Regions from separate parts of the Homo sapiens genome. Here region 2 is linked to region 1. The links are contacts of gene promoters, found by promoter capture Hi-C in human tissues and cell types (Jung and others, 2019). All regions are on one chromosome and are shown on one strand. The core of a region is centred on a gene start or on the middle of the fragment in contact, and the rest is flanking DNA. Distances in the headings are between cores, read along the strand shown. Region 1 holds the start of ZNF562 (zinc finger protein 562). Region 2 holds the start of LOC105372270 (a long non-coding RNA gene).

Region 1 (3,229 bases), core at 509-3,008:
AAATAAATTGCGTTGCTGAGAAAACTTTTGCCTGAGTGCTGGTTTCACTTTGCAGCACCCAGCGTTTTATTTTTTTATCTCCAACAGCTGGGATTACAGGGGCCCACCACCAAGCCCGGCTAATTTTTGTATTTTTAGTAGAGACAGGGTTTTACCATGTTGGCTAGGCTAGTCTGGATCTCCTGACCTCAGGTGATCCGCCTGCCTCTGCCTCCCAAAGTGCTGTGATTACAGGTGTGAGCCAGTGCATCTGGCCTGGCTTTAAGTAGAAAGGCTTGCAGCTGGTAACAATTAGAAAAAAAATAACCTGCAAGAAAATAAAAATTAAAAACTAAAGGCTTAGTCTACACGCGTTCATATTTACATACAAAAACGGGCACACCCTAAACAACTATGTTTTTTCCATCTGAATGTAATGTGTCAAAAATAAGTGGCGGGTGGATCACTTGAGGTCAGGAGTTCGAGACCAGCCTGGCCAACATGGTGAAACCCCATCTCTACCAAAAATATAAAAAATTAGCCAGGTGTGGTGGTGCACGCCTGGAATCCCAGCTACTCGGGAGGCTGAGGCAGGTGAATCATGTTATAAAGTTTTCATGCCACAAAAAAAAAGCACTCAAATATAACATTTTCTTTTCTCAGCAAGGCAATTTACTTCTACAGAAGGGTGTGCCCTCACAGATGGAGCAATGGTGAGCACACACCAGGACAAGGGAGGGGAAGGGGTTCTTATTCTTGAGGAAAGTGGCCCCTGCCGCTTTGTCCTTCCCCGATGGCTAGGGTTAGACCCCACAGGCTAAACTAATTCCAATTGGCTAATTTAAAGAGAGTGACAGGGTGAGTGGTTTGTTGGGGAAAATGGTTATAACAGAGCAGGAAATTGGAATGAGTCAGGGTGGAAAATGAGTCAGGGTGGAGTAAGTAATCGAAATAAGTCTGGGTGGAGCAGGTAATCAGAATGAGTCAGGGTGGAGCAGGTGATCGAAAAAGGTTGCTTTACGGAGAAGTTTAAAAGTAGAAGGCAAAGAATTAAACATACTGACATATTGATTTTTTAAAAAGAAATTTAAAACTCATATCTAACAATCACTTGAACCCGGGAGGTGAAAGTTGCAGTGAGCCAACATCGTGCCACTGCACTCCAGCGTGGGCGACAGAGTAAGACTCCAAATCAAAAAAAAAAAAAAAGTAAAGGACATCAAGACAACGCCAGATTCTCAGATGAGACATTTTTTAGCAAATAAATGGAAGTCACAGCCCTCTTGAAACCATTTTTCCGCCGTTGCTCACCAGGAACATGCCGGAAGAGATAGGTTCCAGACGCGGGAGAATGCGGGGCCAGAGCCAACCTCACCAGAAGGGCAGAAATCCTTTTCCTTTCGGAAAGAAAAAAACTCCCAAAGGTTGCTTTCCAAGCTTTTCAAGAGAGGAGCACAGCGGATGAAAGTACTCAAGAAAACACCCGGCGGAGGCGGAACAAACACACTTCCCGACGCAGCCAGACGGACTGTGCGGCCTCTCGGAACTGGCCAGAGGCCGCACCAGGAGGACTGACAGCCCCTAGAAAAGCGAGTGAAACTAGGCGGATCTGAGAGGCTCCTGGGCGACCACGCCCAATCCTTCCTTTGCCGCCCCGCTGGTATGTCCCGGACCCCCAAGCAGGTAGAACTCACCACAGCGGGGTGGACTCCACCACAATAAAGGTTAAACGGCACTGACCATGCTGAGCCACAGCCGGTAAAGATGGCGGTGGCACACTGACGTCACTTCCGCTCCGAGCCTCCGGCCGGGTGGGGCTCCAGGGCTTGAGTTTCAGGCACGTAGGACAAAGAAATTCTAGTTTCCTCCTGGGTGGGTGCCGGACAGTGCCTGGGGTTGGCTCAGGGAGCGGGATGCAGAAACGGGTTCAGAGAAAAAGATGAGTTTAGAACCGGACCTCTGGACGGAACCGTGGGCGAGGGGTGGGGCCCATATTTGGGGGCGGTTTAGAGGTGGGACCCGGCCTAGCCCGCGTTTCAGGTGCCCAGACGGGTTGGAAAGGCGGGGATGGGGGATGGGACGCACCCCAGAGGATGCTCCTCCAAAGCTTATCCTGGGCGGGCTCAGTGGCTCACGCCTGTAATTCCAGCACTTTGGGAGGCTAAGGCAGGTGGATAGCTTGAGTCCAAGAGTTCCAGACCAGCCTGAGTGAAATAGCAAGACCGTGTGTCTTTTTTTTTCTTTTCTTTTTTTTTTTTTTTTTTTTTTTGAGACAGAGTTTCACTCTTGTTGCCCAGGCCTGTGCCCGGCTCGACCCTGTCTCTATTAAAATATATATATAAGGCCAAGCGCCAGTGGTTCACGCCTGTAATCCCTGCACTTTGGGAAGCCAAGGCGGGCGGATCACCTGAGGTCGGGAGTTTGACACCAGCCTGGCCAACATGCTGAAACCCCGTCTCTACTAAAAATACAAAAAAATAGCTGGGTGTGGTGGCAGGCGCTTGTAATCCCAGCTACTCAGGAGGCTGAGGCAGGAGAATCGCTTGAACCCGGGAGGCGGAGGTTGCGGTGAGCCGAGGTTGCGCCACTGCACTCCAATCTGGGGGACAAGAGCGTGACTTCATCTCAAAAAGAAAAAATATATATATATGTGTGTGTGTGTGTGTGTGTGTGTGTGTGTGTGTGTGTGTCAAGCTTTTTTGTATGCCGCTCCTCATGTTCCTGGAGCCTTTCCATGATTCTTCCATATTAAACCTGCCAGTGATAGATGGCATGGTCTGTCTCTTCCATTCAGTCATTCTTTCTGTAGGCCTTTATTTTTTCTTTTTCTTTTTCTTTTTTTTTTTTTTTTGAGACGGAGTCTCTCTCTGTCCCCCAGGCTGGAGTGCAGTGGTGCAATCTCGGCTCACTGCAAGCTCCGCCTCCTGGGTTCACACCATTCTCCTGCCTAGCCTCCTAAGTAGCTGGGACTACAGGCGCCCGCGACCACAACCAGCTAATTTTTTTGTATTCTTAGTAGAGACGGGGTTTCACGGTGTTAGCCAAGATGATCCCCATCTCCTGACCTCATGATCCACCCGCCTCGGCCTCCCAAAGTGCTGGGATTACAGGCGTGAGCCACCGCGCCCAGCCTATTTTTTCATTCTTTATTTTATAGAACCTGCTGTTTCCATTGCGTTTTCTTTTTACTTTTTTTTTTTTTTTTTTTTTTTTTTGAGACTGGAGTCTCACTCTGTTGCCCGGGCTGGAG
Region 2 (3,229 bases), core at 456-2,955, 34 kb after region 1:
CTTGTGTCATTTAGGCTACTTGGATAAAAAATGAAAAAATGCAGTCCACCTTCACCAAGGGAAAAGTGGCCATTCCTGTACCAGTGGTCCGTATAACCCCTTAGAACTAGTAATAACAAACCCCTTTAATCCTCGCTAGAAAAAAGGGGAATGTGTAACCCTAGAAATTGATGGAGCTGGACTGGATCTTCAAGTAAATATCGTGGTTTGAGGAAAAGTTTATAAACCCTCTCCTGAGCCAGTATTTCAAACCTTCTATGATGAACTGAATGTGCCAGTACCAGAAATTCCAGGAAAAACAAGAAATTTGTTTTTGCAATTAGCCGAGCATATAGCCCAGTCTCTCAATGTCCCTTCATGTTATGTATTAGCACAAGTGTACTGTATGAATCATTATCAATCTATTGCACAGGAAGACATAAGTAGCAAAAATAAGAGTGAGAATTCCCACTAATAAAAAGTGAGAGTCTCAAAGCCGGGAAATGAGAGAAGACAGACCCTCTCATATTGTTTTATGTTGTTTTATACTCAGAAAAAGAAAGAAAAGCAAAACTAAAGGCAGGTAGCCTGGTGCCTAGGAACCAGACCCTAAACCAGGCCTAAGCCTGGTAGTTAAAGATCGACCCTTGACCTAACCAGTTATGTTATCTATGGATTCCAGACATTGTATGGAAAGGCATTGTAAAACTTCCCGGTCGGTTCTGTTTCACTCTGAGCACCGGTGCATGCAGCCCCTGTCACGTACCCCCTGCTTGCTCAATCGACCACGACCTTCTCACATGGACCCGCTTAGAGTTGGGAGCCCTTAAAAGGGACAGGAATTGCTCACTCGGGGAGCTCGGCTCTTGAGACAGGAGTCCTGCCGATGCTCCCGGCTGAATAAACCTCTTCCTTCTTTAGCTCCGTGTCTGCGGAGTTTTGTCTGTGGCTTGTCCTGCTACATCACCAGGGCTGGAGTGCAGTGGCATGATCTCAGCTCGCTGCAACTTCCGCCTCTCGGGTGCAAGCGATTCTCCTGCCTCAGCCTCCCAAGTAGCTGGGATTACAGGTGGCCACCACTAAGCCCAGATAATTTTTTGTATTTTTAGTAGAGATGGGGTTTCACCATGTTGGCCAGGCTGGTCTTGAACTCCTGACCTTGTGATTTGCCCATCTCGGCCTTCCAAAGTGCTGGGATTATATATATTCCTGTAGGAGATAGAAGCTTCAAAAAATAAAAACCTACAGCCAAGCCAATAAAATAGAGCACATATCTCACCACAACTGCAAAGACAACTATGCTGACATTACTACTTTTAGTTGGTGTTGTGCTGGAGGTTAAAATCCATTCAGTAAAGCAAGAAAATATATATTTATATAACCTAATGACTGAAAGGGAAAAATAAGTCATTACTTACAGATTATCTCACTGCCTATGTGGAAAGGGAAAAGAGTCATATTAAGTACTTTGGACTGAACAATGACCCCAAAATTCATTTGTTGAAGCCCCAAACCCCAATGTGAGTGTATGTCAAAATAGGATCTTTAGGGAGTATCATTAAATGAGGTCGAGGGACACAAGGGGCTGTGGGGAGGGAGAGCGAGAGTGAGAGCACGACCCGTTTCTTGGTCTCCATCATGTGAAGACATGAGGAATTAGGCATTTACATGCCAGGAAGAGAGCTCTCACCAGAAGTGGGCCATGCTGGCACTCTGATCTCAGATTTTCAGCCTCCAGAAACATGCGAATATAAATGTTAAAAACAAGTAGTTTAGATAGTTCCTCTTCAAAGGGTTTCATTTTGTTACAAAGTGTTCCTCTGCAAGAGGTCTTTACTTCCTTGTACTGTCTGTCCTGAAGTCTTATTTCCCTGTTGCTTAAATTAACCTTGCCCACCAGTCTATCAGCCCCTCCCATCCTGCTGTGCTCAGGCATGCCCACCAAGAAGTCACCCCCTCCCTGCTGTAACAGCCTTCCCTGCCACAACTGTTCTTCCCTGTACTCTTCAAATTAGCTAACTGCATTCAGTTTAGACTGTGTGGTTCAACCCCAACCAATAGGGGAATGACACATCAACTAAGGCCAAGTGCATTAGGGATTAAAAACCCCTGCTGTCTTTTGTCTGATGAGCTCTTGCCATTGCTCCATCCACGAGACACATGCTTCTGTAGAAGTAAATTTGACTTTCTGAGAAAATTTATGTTCGACTGCTATTTCTTTTGCAGCACAAATAGTATGTTTCTAACAATTTGGTGGCCTGTACAAGGACCCCATTCTCCTCCCAGAGGGTTTTCCATCCTCTCCTGTGAGGACACATGCCCCACTGCCTCATTGCAGTAGCCTCAGGGGTAAGGAATGGAGACCCCCCTAGTGTGATGAATAAACCCGGACTCTCAGCAACATGGGAAGAAAAGACCTACAAATACCGTGGTGACCAGATAACTCTGTCCACAGACCAAGGTAAGAAATGCTGCAGGAGCTGGCAAAGTATTTCCTAGGTGGTCATGACCAAGCTAAGAAAAGCCACAGGGGCAGTGAAATATTCCTTGGTGAGGACACACCAAGGCATGAAAAACTGCGGGGGTGGTGAAGTATTCCTTGGAAGGGGTATCTTGGAAGTTAATAGTGTATGAATAAGATGCACAATTGCATGTGAAATGAGTGTTAAGTCTAGATCTGCAGTTCTGTGGTCACCTCATATGGCTTAGGGTGACCCACCTGTAAAGGAGTCCAGGATGGGGGTTTATACCAACCCACCAATGCCAAGAGGGACCTAACATGGCTAGAGAAGGATGAAGTGAAAGAAGAGGCAAAAAATTCCCAGTAGGGGGGATTGAGCCTCACAGGAACCTCCAGTAGCAAGGAAGGCAAAAAATTTCCATTAGGGGAAATTGAGCCTCACCCCATATTGCAAGAAATTTCCAGTAGGGGAAATTGAGACTTACCCCAAAAGGCAAGAAATCTCCAGTAGGGGAGATTGAGCCTCACCCTAAAACCATCAAGATGGGAAATACCCCAAACAAGGTAAGAAAAAGGATAAAGCTAGCAACAATAATATTCCCCTGATAGTCCCCTAGGCCTAATGTTAAAATATTAGAAGAATAATGAAAAGACCTTAGAGAAATGATAATTAAAAGAATTAGAGAATCTGTACCCTGTATCCAAAACATTACAAAAGCTTTCAATACACAACAAGAAAAAAATAAATGACCTATAAAATTCTGAAAAAAACTCAAAGAGCAAATGGAG

The links. The method cuts DNA at HindIII sites, captures the fragments that hold promoters and counts their contacts. A contact is called where the count stands out against the background at its distance.
Region 2: a fragment that was not itself captured here is called in contact with the fragment with the promoter of ZNF562 in region 1 in 1 of the 25 tissues and cell types used here (hippocampus).

What each region holds. Positions count from the first base shown.
Region 1 is chr19:9,673,342-9,676,570 of GRCh38, forward strand. It overlaps ZNF562 (zinc finger protein 562), which reads right to left and starts at 1,759. Exons shown (of 6, transcript NM_001130031.2): 1 at 1,674-1,759. RefSeq lists enhancers at 728-1,927, 1,466-1,965, 1,644-1,703, 1,966-2,965. The HindIII fragment of the contact is 2,519 bases long and covers 1-2,379 here.
Region 2 is chr19:9,707,553-9,710,781 of GRCh38, forward strand. It overlaps LOC105372270 (a long non-coding RNA gene), which reads left to right and starts at 2,108. Exons shown (of 2, transcript NR_187774.1): 1 at 2,108-2,440. RefSeq lists a silencer at 588-788. The HindIII fragment of the contact is 3,025 bases long and covers 194-3,218 here.